4 separate regions of the Homo sapiens genome follow, and regions 2, 3 and 4 are each linked to region 1. The links are contacts of gene promoters, found by promoter capture Hi-C in blood cells and fetal thymus (Javierre and others, 2016). All regions are on one chromosome and are shown on one strand. The core of a region is centred on a gene start or on the middle of the fragment in contact, and the rest is flanking DNA. Distances in the headings are between cores, read along the strand shown.

The links. Contacts are between HindIII fragments. The CHiCAGO score rates a contact against its expected background, and 5 or more counts as called.
Region 2: a fragment that was not itself captured here is called in contact with the fragment with the promoter of GINS3 in region 1 in 2 of 17 cell types (activated CD4 T cells and naive CD8 T cells); the score reaches 6.2 in activated CD4 T cells.
Region 3: a contact is called between a fragment that was not itself captured here and the fragment with the promoter of GINS3 in region 1, in 10 of 17 cell types (non-activated CD4 T cells, naive CD4 T cells, activated CD4 T cells and 7 more). The highest score is 12.9, in non-activated CD4 T cells.
Region 4: a fragment that was not itself captured here is called in contact with the fragment with the promoter of GINS3 in region 1 in 2 of 17 cell types (naive CD4 T cells and non-activated CD4 T cells); the score reaches 5.4 in naive CD4 T cells.

Annotation. Positions count from the first base shown.
Region 1 is chr16:58,390,906-58,394,281 of GRCh38, forward strand. It overlaps GINS3 (GINS complex subunit 3), which reads left to right and starts at 1,566. Exons shown (of 3, transcript NM_022770.4): 1 at 1,566-1,882. The coding sequence starts at 1,697. RefSeq lists enhancers at 1,205-1,782, 1,389-1,878, 1,783-2,359. The HindIII fragment of the contact is 2,062 bases long and covers 334-2,395 here.
Region 2 is chr16:58,643,191-58,646,566 of GRCh38, forward strand. No RefSeq gene overlaps it. Among named protein-coding and RNA genes, the nearest start is that of CNOT1, 15 kb to the left of the region's middle. The HindIII fragment of the contact is 7,485 bases long and covers 1-3,376 here.
Region 3 is chr16:58,622,714-58,626,089 of GRCh38, forward strand. The region is part of intron 1 of CNOT1 (CCR4-NOT transcription complex subunit 1); the gene reads right to left. Among named protein-coding and RNA genes, the nearest start is that of CNOT1, 5.4 kb to the right of the region's middle. The HindIII fragment of the contact is 4,558 bases long and covers 1-3,376 here.
Region 4 is chr16:58,239,139-58,242,514 of GRCh38, forward strand. The region is part of intron 3 of LOC105371293 (a long non-coding RNA gene); the gene reads right to left. Among named protein-coding and RNA genes, the nearest start is that of CFAP263, 9.1 kb to the right of the region's middle. The HindIII fragment of the contact is 4,235 bases long and covers 1-3,376 here.

The sequences.
Region 1 (3,376 bases), core at 316-2,815:
CTTACATTTTCCTCCCATTTTCTATGGAATGGCCTAACTCCTTAGAATGGTACCAAGATTTTCCACAGTTTGGCCATTCCTTTCCACCCCACTGCACCTTGTTTTCATTGTCCTCAGAATTTCATTTATAAAGGTGACTGGGTGATGACAATCAATGAGTTAGTGGCCAATGCCTTTGAAAATTTTATTATAGTTCTCAAGAGAAGGGGCTGTGCCTACGGCCACACGAGAAAGTATTAGGGTCAATGAGGAGGTAGAGAGAGCGAGGAGAAAGCCCAGAGCCTTTATTGCCGTGGGAAGGAATGGGCGAAGCAGGGAAGGGAAGTCTGAACAAGCTTAGGATTGAATAATTTGAATAATGTTGGCAAGCTCTGGGATATAGAGGTGAATTTTAGTTGTCTGGTACTTGGCCATGGGGTGGTTTATTACAGTGACTTGGGGCAGGGAAAATATTGGTGTGTGAGATGGATAAAGATGGTGTGGGGATATAGGCTTGGGTTGGTTGGTTTGTAAATGAAAGGGGTGTTCACAAGCAAGTTGTTTGCTATCTCTAGGAATTAGCTAACTCTGAAAGGGGCAATTCCTCCCCAGGTCCCCAAGGCCCCAAGATGTCAAAGCATCATAAAATACAGAAAACAGAAACTAAAATCCATGGTTAATACACACCTCCCTTCACACACACCCTTTACTCCCGGCTCCAGTAGCCCCAGAAATGCTCTAGACGAAGTAAGTTCTGTAGTGCATCTCTCAACAATATGCCGCCACCCATAGCCCTGGCTGAGGAGAGCCACCAAACCTGGTACTATGCGACCATGGTCCTTCCCCTGGTCACTGGATAGTGATCGCACCCAACACAGGCACCCCCATCTACAGGGTGGCTGGAGATCTATGACCATTGTGGCGTACCTGGACCAATCAATAAACTGGACCAATTGGATTTCCATTTTTAGGGATTTAAATTCAGAGCCACAAAAGGAGATTGTCAGTTGATGATGAGCTAAGACACCCTGAAGTATACTCACAACCTTAGCAAGCCATGTGCAGTCTAGTGCTCCACCCCTCTACCCACCCCGTCCAACCCCCACCAAAATACTAACAAAATACAACACACTAGTTCATCATCTAGACCATAATAACTCGCTGGGGATAGTGCTGGAAGTTTTTGTTTGTTTAACATTTCTTTCAAATACTAAGATTAACGGAGTTGCATAGTGAAAAAAACTGTAGGAAAGGGTCGGACTTAGGCCTGGAGTGAAGGGCACAAGATGCTTTTATTTTAAACCCCTAAAAGTGTTGCAAAGTGTTTTTAATTTCATATAAATAGTTAAGGATCACATGAACACAATCCAGTACAAATGGGTCCAGGAGCTTCAACGAGCGTTCCAGCTTCTTCGTAACGTTCCCACACCGTGCAGCAAGCGGAGGGAAGAGAACTTCCGGCGCCCCCACCTACCGCTCCCCAGCCGTGTCCCGCTGCTCTAAATCTGCAGACTTGATCGATTGCTTCTGCCTGGGCGGTACCGCCCGAATTGACTGCTCCTGTCTGATGCGTCCCCGGGCGCGGGAAACGAGTTTCAATCCACTTTCCTGACCCCAACCATCCTGCCCAGTCTCCGCTTCCCCGTCTTGTACACCCCTAACTCCTGAGGCTCCTCCGAATCACGCGAGTGGAAGCGGAGAAGCTCAAGTGGCCGCCATGTCAGAGGCTTATTTCCGAGTGGAGTCGGGTGCGCTGGGGCCTGAGGAGAACTTTCTTTCTTTGGACGACATCCTGATGTCCCACGAGAAGCTGCCGGTGCGCACGGAGACCGCCATGCCTCGCCTTGGCGCTTTCTTCCTGGAGCGGAGCGCAGGCGCCGAGACTGACAACGCGGTCCCACAGGTGAGCCTTTGGGTGCGGGGTCCTGCCCGGAAAGACTGCAGCTCCCGGCGGGCCCCTCGGCCCTGGGACGCCGCATCGGGGCGCGCTGCCCTTTGGGATTTGTAGTTTTCGAGGAGCCAGGGCCGAAGGCGCTAACGACTTCTCGGAAACTCCGCGGGGGTCCCTTCGCGCTCGGGGTGGTCTCCAGACTTCTTGTTCGCCATCTGTGGTGAAACTACATTTATCCTAGGTCGCCAGGCAGCCTCCAACATTGATTTCTTTTTTGAAACTGTCCAAATTAGTGTCTTCCCCCTACCCCATGCAACGTGTGTTGAATGCTTAAAGATTGGCTCCAGCTGAATACTTAAGAATTAGAGTTCTGATCATGTTTGCCTTAAAACAGCTTTGGGTTCTGTAAGAGCATGTGATAAGTAGGAACCCCAAGTTGCTAAATTCATTCCTCCATAATGATGACAGGATCAGTAAGCCCTACTGAGGCTTACTTAGTGGCAGCATGGTTGGGTGTGGGGAGTAAGCTTTTCCCTTTAATCCTTCAGCAACCAGAAAGGCTGGGTCACTTGGCCAGGGCTTCAGTTAGTGGTGAGCTGGGATTCGGAACCCAAGGCCATATGGCTTCAAATATAAAATTGTCCCAGGAACATGGCTTGTAATGATTAATTTGGATATCCTGTTTCACCTAAGTTTTGTATAGAACGATGTTTATTGTTTGGTCTGTTTGTTTCAAGTTAATTTTTATCAAAGTAATACATAACCAACGTTTTAAAAGTCAAATAGGCCGGATGCGGTGGCTCACGCCTGTAATCCCAGCACTTTGGGAGGCTGAGGCGGGCGGATCACGAGGTCAAGAGATCCAGACCATCCTGGCCAACATGGTGAAACCCCATCTCTACTAGAAAGCTGGGTGTGGTGGCCGGCGCCTGTAATCTCAGCTACTCTGGAGGCTGAGGCAGGAGAATTTCTTGAACCCAGGAGGCAGAGGTTGCAGTGAGCCGAGACTGTGCCACTGCACTCCAGCCTGGCGACAGAGTGAGACTCCATCTCAAAAAAAAAAAAAAAAAAAGTCAAATAGTACCAAAAGATTTATAAGAAAAAAAATAGCAGGTCCTGCCTTCCTTTTCCCACTTCCCCCTCCAAGTCCACAGGGCTCATGTACCTTTTTTAGTGGTGTCTTCAAGATTCATCTTCATATTTCTAAATAATATTCTTAAACTTACCTTGTTGGGTTGTTTTTTTTAATGTAGACATTATCTGTTGACTTCATCCTAGCAGATGAGGATTTCGTTCCCATACACACTGGTAAACATGGCGCTATGCTGCCCATACTTAATTCATATTTCCTTAGTTTTTAGTTAATGCCCTTTTTCTATTCTAGGATTCCACCTAGGATACCACACTGCATTTAGTAGACATGTTTCCTTAGCCTTCTCTTGGTTGTGACAATTAATCAGACCTCCTTGTTCTAATGACCTCGACGGTTTTGTGGAGTGGTGGTCA
Region 2 (3,376 bases), core at 417-2,916, 250 kb after region 1:
TCCCACCTCGGCCTCCCGAACTGTTGGGATTACAGGCATGAGCCACCATGCCTGGCCAGTAATACAATTTTTTTTTTATGGATTTTTGTTATTGTCATCCAGGCTGGAGTGCAATGGCGTGATCTCGGCTCACTGTAACCTCTGCATCCCTGGTTCAAGCAATTAACCTGCCTTAGCCTCCTGAGTAGCTGGGATTACAGGCACATGCCACCACGCCCAACTAATTTTTGTATTATTAGTAGAGACGGGGTTGCAACATGTTGGCCAGGCTGGTCTCAAACTCCTGACCTCAGGTGATCCACCCGCCTTGGCCTCCCAAAGTGCTGGTGTTACAGGCATGAACCACCATGCCCAGCCCAGAAATATAAAACTTTTTTTTTTGAGACAGAGTTTCACTCTTGTTGTCCAGGCTGGAGTGCAATTGTGAAATCTTGGCTCACCACAACCTCCACCTCCTGGGTTCAAGCAATTGTCCTGCCTCAGTCTCCCGAGTAGCTGGGATTACAGGTGTGTGCCATCACGCACGGCTAATTTTGTAATTTTAGTAGAGACAGGGTTTCACCATGTTGTCCAGGCTGGTTTTGAACTCTTGACCTCAGGTGATTCGCCTGCCTTGGCCTCACAAAGTGCTGGGATTACAGGCGTGAGCCACTGGGCCTGGCCTAGGAACATGATTTTTTTTTTGTTCTTGTTCTTTTTTTTTTTTTTGAGACGGAGTCTTGCTCTGTCACCCAGGCTGGAGTGCAGTGGCATGATCTTAGCTCACTGCAAGCTCTGCCTCCCAGGTTCATGCCATTCTCGTGCATCAGCCTCCCGAGCAGCTGGGACTACAGACGCCCGCCACCATGCCCGGCTAATTTTTTTTTGTATTTTTAGTAGAGACAGGGTTTCACTGTGTTAGCCAGGATGGTCTCGATCTCCTGACTTCGTGATCTGCCTGCCTCGGACTCCCAAAGTGCTGGGATTACAGGCATCAGCCACCACGCCCGGCTGGAACATGATTTTTTAAAACAACACTGTGGGCCCAACCAATCTGCCTGCTTCACAGTGTTGCTGTATGGTGCAAAGGAGGAAATGTCATGCTTTGTAAACTATGAATTGGAAGAGTGTGTGTGTATTTGTGTGTGTGTGCATGTGTGTGTGTGTGTGCATGTGTGCGTGTGTGTGTGTGTGTGTGTACAGCACTATGCACTGGGGTTCTGAGCTCCTCTTTTTCTTTTGCTCTTCTGACACCTGAGCAAGAAAGAGACACCCTGGCCAAGTGCAATAGCTCATGCCTGTAGTCCCAGCACTTTGGGAGGCCAAAGTGGGAGGATTGCTTGAGCCCAGCAGTTCCAGACCAGCCTGGGCAACATAGCGGAGACCCTGTCTCATTTTAATATTTTTGAGATGGAGTTTCACTCTTGTTGCCCAGGCTAGAGTGCAATGGCACGATCTTGGCTTACCGCAACCTCCGCCTCACGGGTTCAAGCAATTCACCCGCCTTAGCCTCCTGAGAAGCTGGAATTACAAGCATACACCACCACACCTGGCTAATTTTGTATTTTTAGTAGAGATGGGGTTTCTCCATGTTGGCCAGGCTGGTCTTGAACTCCTGACCTCAGGTGACCCGCCCGCCTCAGTCCCCCAAAGTGCTGAGATTACAGGTGTGAGCCACTGCTCTCGGCCGAGACTCCCTCATTCTAACCTTCCTGTGACTCTGAGGAGAGGGGGTGACTCACCGCTCTCAGGCAGTGGTTCTCTGTGTTGCTGAAGTTGCAGGTGCCCTCAGAGCAGCAGTAGATGTGAGGAATGGCCAGAGGCTATGGACAAAAGTCTGGAAAGTCAGACAGTGACAGCAGGGGGCCACTGGACCCACCTCCATTCCCATGGAAGTCACCCCATTTCCTGCCATTTCTAAATTGGCCTGCATGGCGGCATCACCTGTCTCTGACTTAAGGATGGCAGAGAGCCACCTGCCTTACAGGTAGATGTACCACAAGGTGCCAAAGATAAGGACTGGAAGGAGACAGAACTTATTCTTTGCCAACGAGGCCATTGTAACCAAATTCCATCAGTGTCATTGGCTTAAAACCAGGAGGGACAAGTAAATGCCTCTACTTGATCATGACAGTGATAATGACTCACCTTGACTGAGTGCTCGCTGTGTGCCACACTCTACCTTGAGTCCTTTATTTTAATTGTCTTCTTTATTTACTGTAACCCTGTGAAGCAGGTACTACTCTGTGCATTACCATTTTTTTTTTTTTTTTTGAGACAGAGCCTCACTCCATTGCCTAGGCTGGAGTGCAGTGGCACGATCTCGGTTCACTGCAACCTCCGCCTCCCAGGTTTAAGCGAGTCTCCTGCCTCAGCATCCCAAGTAGCTGGGATTACAGACATGCATCACCATGACTGGCTAATTTTTGTATTTTTAGTAGAGACAGGGTTTCACCATGTTGGCCAGGCTGGTCTCAAACTCCTGGACTCAGGTGATCCACCTGCCTCAGCCTCCCAAAGTGCTGGGATTACAAGCATGAACCACCATGCCTGGCCTGTCAATCCCATTTTGCAGACAAGGAAATTGAGGTAAACGGATGGTAAAGAGCTTGCTCAAGGCCACAGTCAGTCAGAGGCAGTGCCAGGATTCAAACCCAGGTTGGTGTGATGTCCAGACCTAACACTTGTAGCCATTTGGCTATATTGCCTCCTGCAGGGTTAACACAGAGCCATACTCAGAACCTCAGAGCAGCTGACACCTTTCAGATTGCAGTAGAGGGGAATGAGGATCAAGGTCAGAGATTGATCACTATCCTCTGAATATATCCCCACTCTTCCCATTGATCTCTGTCTCCCATGTTCTCATTCTCTAGTCCATGTGTTGCTGTCATCTCTGCCTGGACCACAGCAGGCCCTGACTGGTCTCCATCTCTGTACTCTGCCCTGCTCCTCCATAAACTATCCTCCTGCTAAAATCCTTCTAATGGCTCCCTATAGAGTCTTTGCATGGCTTACAAGGCCCCCACCTGCCACAAGAGCCTCTTTCTTACTGTCCATCCCCAACTTGAGGTGGGTCTCATTCTGTCACCCAGGCTGGAGTGCAGCGGCATGATCACTGCTCACTGCAGCCTTCACCTCCCCAGGCTCAGGTAATCCTCCCCTTCAGCCTCCTGAGTAGCTGGGACTACAGGTGTGCACCACCACACCCGGCTAATATTTGTATTTTTTGTATTTTTTTATTTTTTGAGACTGAGTCTCACTCTGTCACCAAGCTGGAGTGCAGTGGCGGGATCTTGGCTCACTGCAACCTCCGACTCCCTGGTTCAAGCAATTCTCCTGCCTCACCCTCCCAAGTAGCTGAGATTACAGCCACGCGCCACCACGCCCAGCTAATTTT
Region 3 (3,376 bases), core at 877-3,376, 230 kb after region 1:
GTGGGCACCTATAATCCCACCTACTCGGGAGGCTGAGGCAGGATCGTCTCTTGAAACCTGGAGGCAGAGGTTGCAGTGAGCTGAGATCGCACCACTGCACTCTAACCCAGGCGCCAAGAGTGAAACTCTTGACCCAAAAAAAAAAAAAAGAAAGAAAGAAAAAGAAAAAAGAATGTTAGATAGCGTCTTTGAAAATCCTTTTGGCTGGGTGCAGTGGCTCACGCCTGAAATCCCAGCACTTAGGGAGGCCAAGGCAGGCAGATCACCTGAGGTCAGGAGTTCGAGACCAGCCTGACCAATATGGCAAAACCCCGTCTCTACTAAAAATACAAAAATTAGCCAAGCGTGGTGGCAGGCGCCTGTAATCCCAGCTACTCAGGAGGCTGAGGCAGGAGAATCGCTTGAACCCAGGAAGGAGAGGTTGCAGTGAGCCGATATCGCGCTCCAGCCTGGGGGATACAGCGAGACTCTGCCTCCAAAAAAAAAAAGAAAAGAAAATACTTCCATCCCACTTTTATATTTCAAATAATTACTTCAACATTACTGTAATATTTATTGTGAGATATACATTTGGTCTTCATCCCATTTCCTGGCATACAACTTCTAAGATCCTTAGAATGGTAAGTTTCTTTTTGTATGCTGAGTTGACTGATAGCTTGGCAACTTCTAGGTAGTTTCTGCATGGGTGCTGGTCACCTGAAAGATCAAGGCAAGATGAGAGGATTAGGACTTTTAGCCCCACCTCCTCCAAACTCCAGGGAGGGAAAAGGTGCTAAGGGTTAAGGTGACCACCAAAGGTCAATGATTTAACCAACTGTGCCTCTGTAATGAAGCCTCCATAAAAGCCCATAAATGACTGGGTTCAGAGAGCTTCCAGATAGCTGAGGCACAGTGTAGCCAGGGGAGGGCATGGAAGCTCCGCGGCCCTTACTTCTCCTACGCACCTCCTCATCCATATCCTTTATAATAAACTCTTGAACCTAAGTGTTGGCCGGGTACAGTGGCTCATGCCTGTCTGTAATCCCAGCACTTTGGGAGGCTGAGGTGGGTCGATCGCTTGAAGTCAAGAATTCGAGACCAGCCTGACCAACATGATGAAACCCCATCTCTACCAAAAATATAAAAAATTAGCCAGGTGTGGTGGCGCATGCCTATAATCCCAGCTACTTGGGAGGCCGAGGCAGAAGAATCGCTTGAACCAGAGCGATAGAGGTTGCAGCAAGCCTAGATCGTGCCACTGCACTCCAGCCTGGGTGACAGAGCCAAGACTCCGGCTCCAAAAAAAAAAAACCCTAAGTATTTCCGAGAGTTCTACATAAGCCACTCTAGCAAGTTAACTGAACAAAAGAAGGGGGTATTAGGAACTCAATTTATAGTCAGTTGGTCAGAAACACAGGTAAAACCACCTGGGACTTGAGATTAGCATTGGAAGTGGGGGACTGTCTATGGGACTTGAGCTTTCAACCTGTGGGATCTGATGCTATCTTCAGGTACACCGTGTCAGAATAATACTGAATTAGAGGATACCCATGTGGTGTCCACTGCTGAATAGCTTGCTTGATGCGCAGGGGAAAACCCCACACATCTGGTGGTGTGAGAATATACTGGAAGAAAGTTTATGTTCTCAGAATCAACAAAAAATTATCCTACATGGTTGCAACGTATTCAACATTTCAGGAATTTCCCTGTAACAACTGTAACACAGTTAAGCAACAGGTATGCTGGAGGTTAGTTAATGCTGTGTTTTCCAGAATTAAAGATATAAATGCATTTCTCAAATATATACACTACATTCCTTTAAATCACTGTGGGTGCGACGGCTTACGCCTATAATCCCAGCACTTTGGGAGGCTGAGATGAGTGGATCACAAGGTCAGGAGTTCGAGACCAGCCTGACCAACATGGTGAACCAGATCTCTACTAAAAAGACAAAAATTACCCAGCCGTGGTGGCACGCGCCTGTAATCCCAGCTACTCGGGAGGCTGAGGGAGGAGAATCACTTGAACCTGGGAGGCGGACGTTGCAGTGAGCCGAGATCACACCACTGCTCTCAAGCCTGGGCAACAGAGCAAGACTCCATCTTAAAAAACAAACAAACAAACGAAAAAACTCAACAAATGGCTTCATATTAAGTCTACACCTCTAATTACTGCCTTCTCAAACTACGCTTTCCAGTGAACAATGCTTTATTTGGTTTGCTACATTCTTGCAAATTTGAGTGAAAAGTACACTTAAAAAAAAAAAGTATCATAGGCCAGTATGGTGGCTCACATCTGTAATCACGGCACTCTGGGAGGTCTTGGTGGACAGATCGCTTGAGCCCAGGAGTTCCAGACCAGCCTGGGAAACACAGTGAAACCTCACCTCTACCAAAAAAATACAAAAATTAGGCCAGGCGCAGTGGCTCACACCTGTAATCCCAGAACTTTGGGAAGCTGAGGCAGGTAGATCACTTGAGGTCAGGAGTTCAAGACCAGATGGCCAACATGGTAAAACCCCATCTCTACTAAAAATACAGGCCTGGGCAGTGGCTCACGCCTGTAATCACAGCACTTTGGGAGGCCGAGGCAGGTGGATCACCTGAGGTCAGGAGTTCGAGACCAGCCTGACTAACGTGGTGAAACCCTGTCTCTACTAAATACAAAAAATTAGCCGGGCATGGCGGCGTGCGCCTGTAATCCCAGCTATTCAGGAGGCTGAGGCAGGAGAATCACTTGAACCCAGGAGCCGGAGGTTGCACTGAGCAGAGATCACACTATTGCACTCCAGCCTGGGCAACAAGAGCAAAACCCTGTTTTAAAAAAACATATATATATAAAATTAGCCAGGCATGATGGCGCGCACCTGTAATCCCAGCTACTTGGGAAGCTGAGGCAGGAGAATCACTTGAACCCGGGAGGCAGAAGTTGCAGCAAGCCAAGATCATACCACTGCACTCCAGCCTGAGGGAGAAGAGCAAAACTCTCTCTCAAAAAAAAAAGAAAAAAAACAATTTTTGACACGTGTGGTTAGCATGCACCTGTAGTCCCAGCTACTCAGGGGCTGAGGTGAGAGACTGACCTGAGACCAGAATATCAAGGCTGCAGTGAGCAGGGATTGTGCCGCTGCACTCCAGCCTAGGCATTGAAGTGAAACCCTGTCTCAAAAAAAAAAAAAAAAAAAACTATTGTATACACTGGGGGGCAGAAGGTGTTGAGCCCCTTTTAACTTTCAAAGATTCATCTTTAAAATTGTGAGCAAACAGAAAAGGAATTGCTAGATTCTTCTATATATAGAGTCACTCAATGGGATGCCATTTTGAAACTTCACAGCAGGAAGTTTTAGTTTGGTCAGAGGGTCATTAAAGAAATGCCTCAGTTAATATATATGACTTGA
Region 4 (3,376 bases), core at 391-2,890, 150 kb before region 1:
TGTTAGAATCAGCTTATCAATTCACAAAAATAAAGTCTGATGGGATTTTAATTACAGTTGCATTGACTCTACAGATTAATTACAGGATAACTGATAGCTTAATATTTAGCGCTGTGATCCATGAAGGTGGTCTCTCTCTCTCTCTCTCTCTCTCTCTCTCTCTGCAGTACAGGCATTTTAGTATTTTAAATTTGTGTCTAAATACTGCTTTGGATGCATACTATTGATTTTAATATATGGTGTTTAATTTTTATTCAATTTAAAGTACTTTCTAATTTCCTTATTGATTTTTTTAACCTATTTGTGATTTAAGAGTGTGTTATCTTGTTTCTAAATATTAGAGGTTTTTCCAAATGTCTTTCTGTTTCATTTCTAATTTAATTCTATTGTGGTGAGAGAACATAACTTTGTATGGCAAATACTTTTAAATGTATTGAAATTTATTGTTTAACGAATATGGTCTTCTTAGTAATGTTCTGTGTGCACTTGGAAAGAATGTGAGTTCTGCTGTTGTTGGGTGGAGTGTTTCAGAAATGTCCGTTAGGACACTTCAGTTAATAAAGCTGCTCAAATCTTCTATTTCCTTACTTATTTTTATGTCCATTTAGCCTATCAATTTTTGAGAGATTGGTGTTGATATCTTTGAAGTCTTTAATTGTGAATTCGTCTGTCTGTTTCTTCTTGCAGTTCTATTGGTTTTTGCTTCATGGATTTTGAAGCTGTCTTATTGGATGCATAAATATCATGTCTTTATGAATTCATCCCTTTATTATTATAAACTGACCCTGTTTATTACAGGTAATATCCTTTGCTCTGAAATCTACTATGTCTGATATTAACATAATTACTTCACCTTTCTTTGGTGTTTGTATTATTGTTTGACTAGTGTTTGCATCTTTTTCCCTTTTACTTTTAACCCACTTGTGTCTTTATATTTAAAGTGTATTTTTTATAGGCAGCATGTATTTAGGTTTTGCTTTTTTATTCAATCAGATAACCTTTGCCTTTTAATCAGAATGTTTAGACCAATTCCCTTTGGTGTAATTATTGATATGGTTGGATTTTAATCTACCATCTTGATATTTTCTACTTATTCTTTTTTAAAAACAGCTTTATTGATATATAATTCACATACTTAACAATTCACCCACTTAAAGAGTAAATTCAGTGACTGTTACTATATTCAAAAGTTGTGCATCTATCACCCCAGTCAATTGTAGAACGTTTTTCTTACCCCAGAAGAAACTCCACATGCCTTATTCATCACTTATCCCTCATTTTCCCTATCCCGGCCATAAACAACCACTAATCTATTTCTTGTCTCCATGTATCTGCTTATTTTTGACATTTCATATACATAAAATCATACAATATGTGGTCCTTTGTGATTTTCTTTCTTTTTACTTATCGTAATGTTTTCATGCTTTGTCCTTGTTGTATGTATCCATACTTCATTCGTTTTTTATTGCCAAATAATATTACATTTTATAGATACAACATTTGTTCATCTGCTCATCAGTTGATAGGCATTTGTGTCTTTTTGGTTAGTTTAAATAATACCACTGTGCACATTCATGTACAAGTTCATGCATGGATATGTGTTTTAATTTCTTTTGAGTATATACTAGGAGTAGAATTGGTGGATCACATGGTAACTCTATGTTTAGCCTTTTAGTAACAACCAAACTTTGTTTTCTGAAGGAGCTGCACCATTTTCCATTCCCACCAGCAGTTTATGGGGGTTCCAATTTCTCCACATTCTTACTGATACTTGTTTTTATCTGTCTTTTTAATTATATATTATATGTTCTATTATATATTATGCTTCCATGATGACTAATGATGTTGGGCATCTTTTCATGTGCTTATTGATCACTTGTATATCTTTTTTGGATAAATGTCCATTCAAATCATTTGCTTATTTATTTATTACTTTTTTGAGACGGAGTTTCGCTCTTGTTGCCAGGCTGGAATGCAATGGCGTGATCTCGGCTCACTGCAACTTCCGCCTCCCGGGTTCAAGTGATGTCCGCCACCACACCTGGCTAAATTTTGTGTTTTTAGTAGAGACAGGGTTTCACCATGTTGGCTAGGCTGGTTTTGAACTCCTGACCTCAAGTGATCTGCCCGCCTCAGCCTCCCAAAGTGCTGGGATTACCGGCATGAGCCACTGAGCCTGGCCTATTTGCTTATCTTTTAATTATTGAGTTGTAATAATAGTTCTTTATGTATCCTGGATATAAATCTCTCATCATATATATGATTTGCAATTTTTCTCTCATTCTGTGGATTGTCTTTTCACTTTCTTGATGGTGTTCTATGAAGCACAAAAGTTTTTAATAAGTCCAACTTATCTATTTTTTCTTTATTGCCTTGCTTCTATTTGTTCTTTTTGTTTATATTTCCCTTTTTCTGCCTTCTTTTGGATCCATTCGAATATTTTATAATTCCACTTTATCTCCTTTGTTGACTTAGCTGTATTAGTTTCATAGGCTATTGTGATATATTGCCACAAACTTTGTGGCTTAAAACAACACAAATTTATTCTCTTATAGTTCCAGAGGCCAGAAGTCCAAAATGGGTCTCACTCAGCAGGGCTGTATTTTCTCTAGAGGCTTAAGGGGAGAATTCTCCAGTTTTTAGAGCTTCATTCCTTGCATTCCTTGGCTCCTAGGCCCTCTCCTCCATCTTCAAAGTCCACAGCATAGCATCTTCAAGTCTCTCTCTGCTGAGGTTGTCACATTGCTTTCTCTCTTCTGTAGTAGAATCTCCTTCTGCCTCCCTCTTGTAAGGACACTTGTGATTGCTTTTAGGGCCCACTTACATAATCCAGGATAACCACTCCATTTTAAGACCTTTAACTTAATCGCTAAAATTGTTAAGACCTTTTCCCCCTTTACAAGGTAATATTCATAGGTTCCAATGATTAGAACCTGGATATCTTTGCGGGCCATTGTTCTGTCTACCACATTGTCTAGACATTCAGTCTAGAGTTAAAGCTACTCTTTTAGTTTTATGTCTTTGCTGTGTCATTTTTGTCATTGCTTTGGGGTTTATGGTACATTTCTTTAACTTAGTACAGTCTATCTTCAAGTGTTATTATACCACTTTATGTATAGTATAAGAACTTTATACCATCACACTCCCATTTCTCCTCTACTATCATTGTCATACATTTCACTTATAAACTCTACAATGTAAATGTTTTTTTTTTCTTTCTTTCTTTCTTTTGAGATGGAGTTTTTTGCTCTTGTCACCCTGGCTGGAATGCAATGGCCCGATCTGGGCTCACTGCAACCTCTGCCTCCTGGGTTCAAGCAATTCTCCTGCCTCAGACTCCCAAGTAGCTGAGATTACAGGTATGTGCCACCACGCC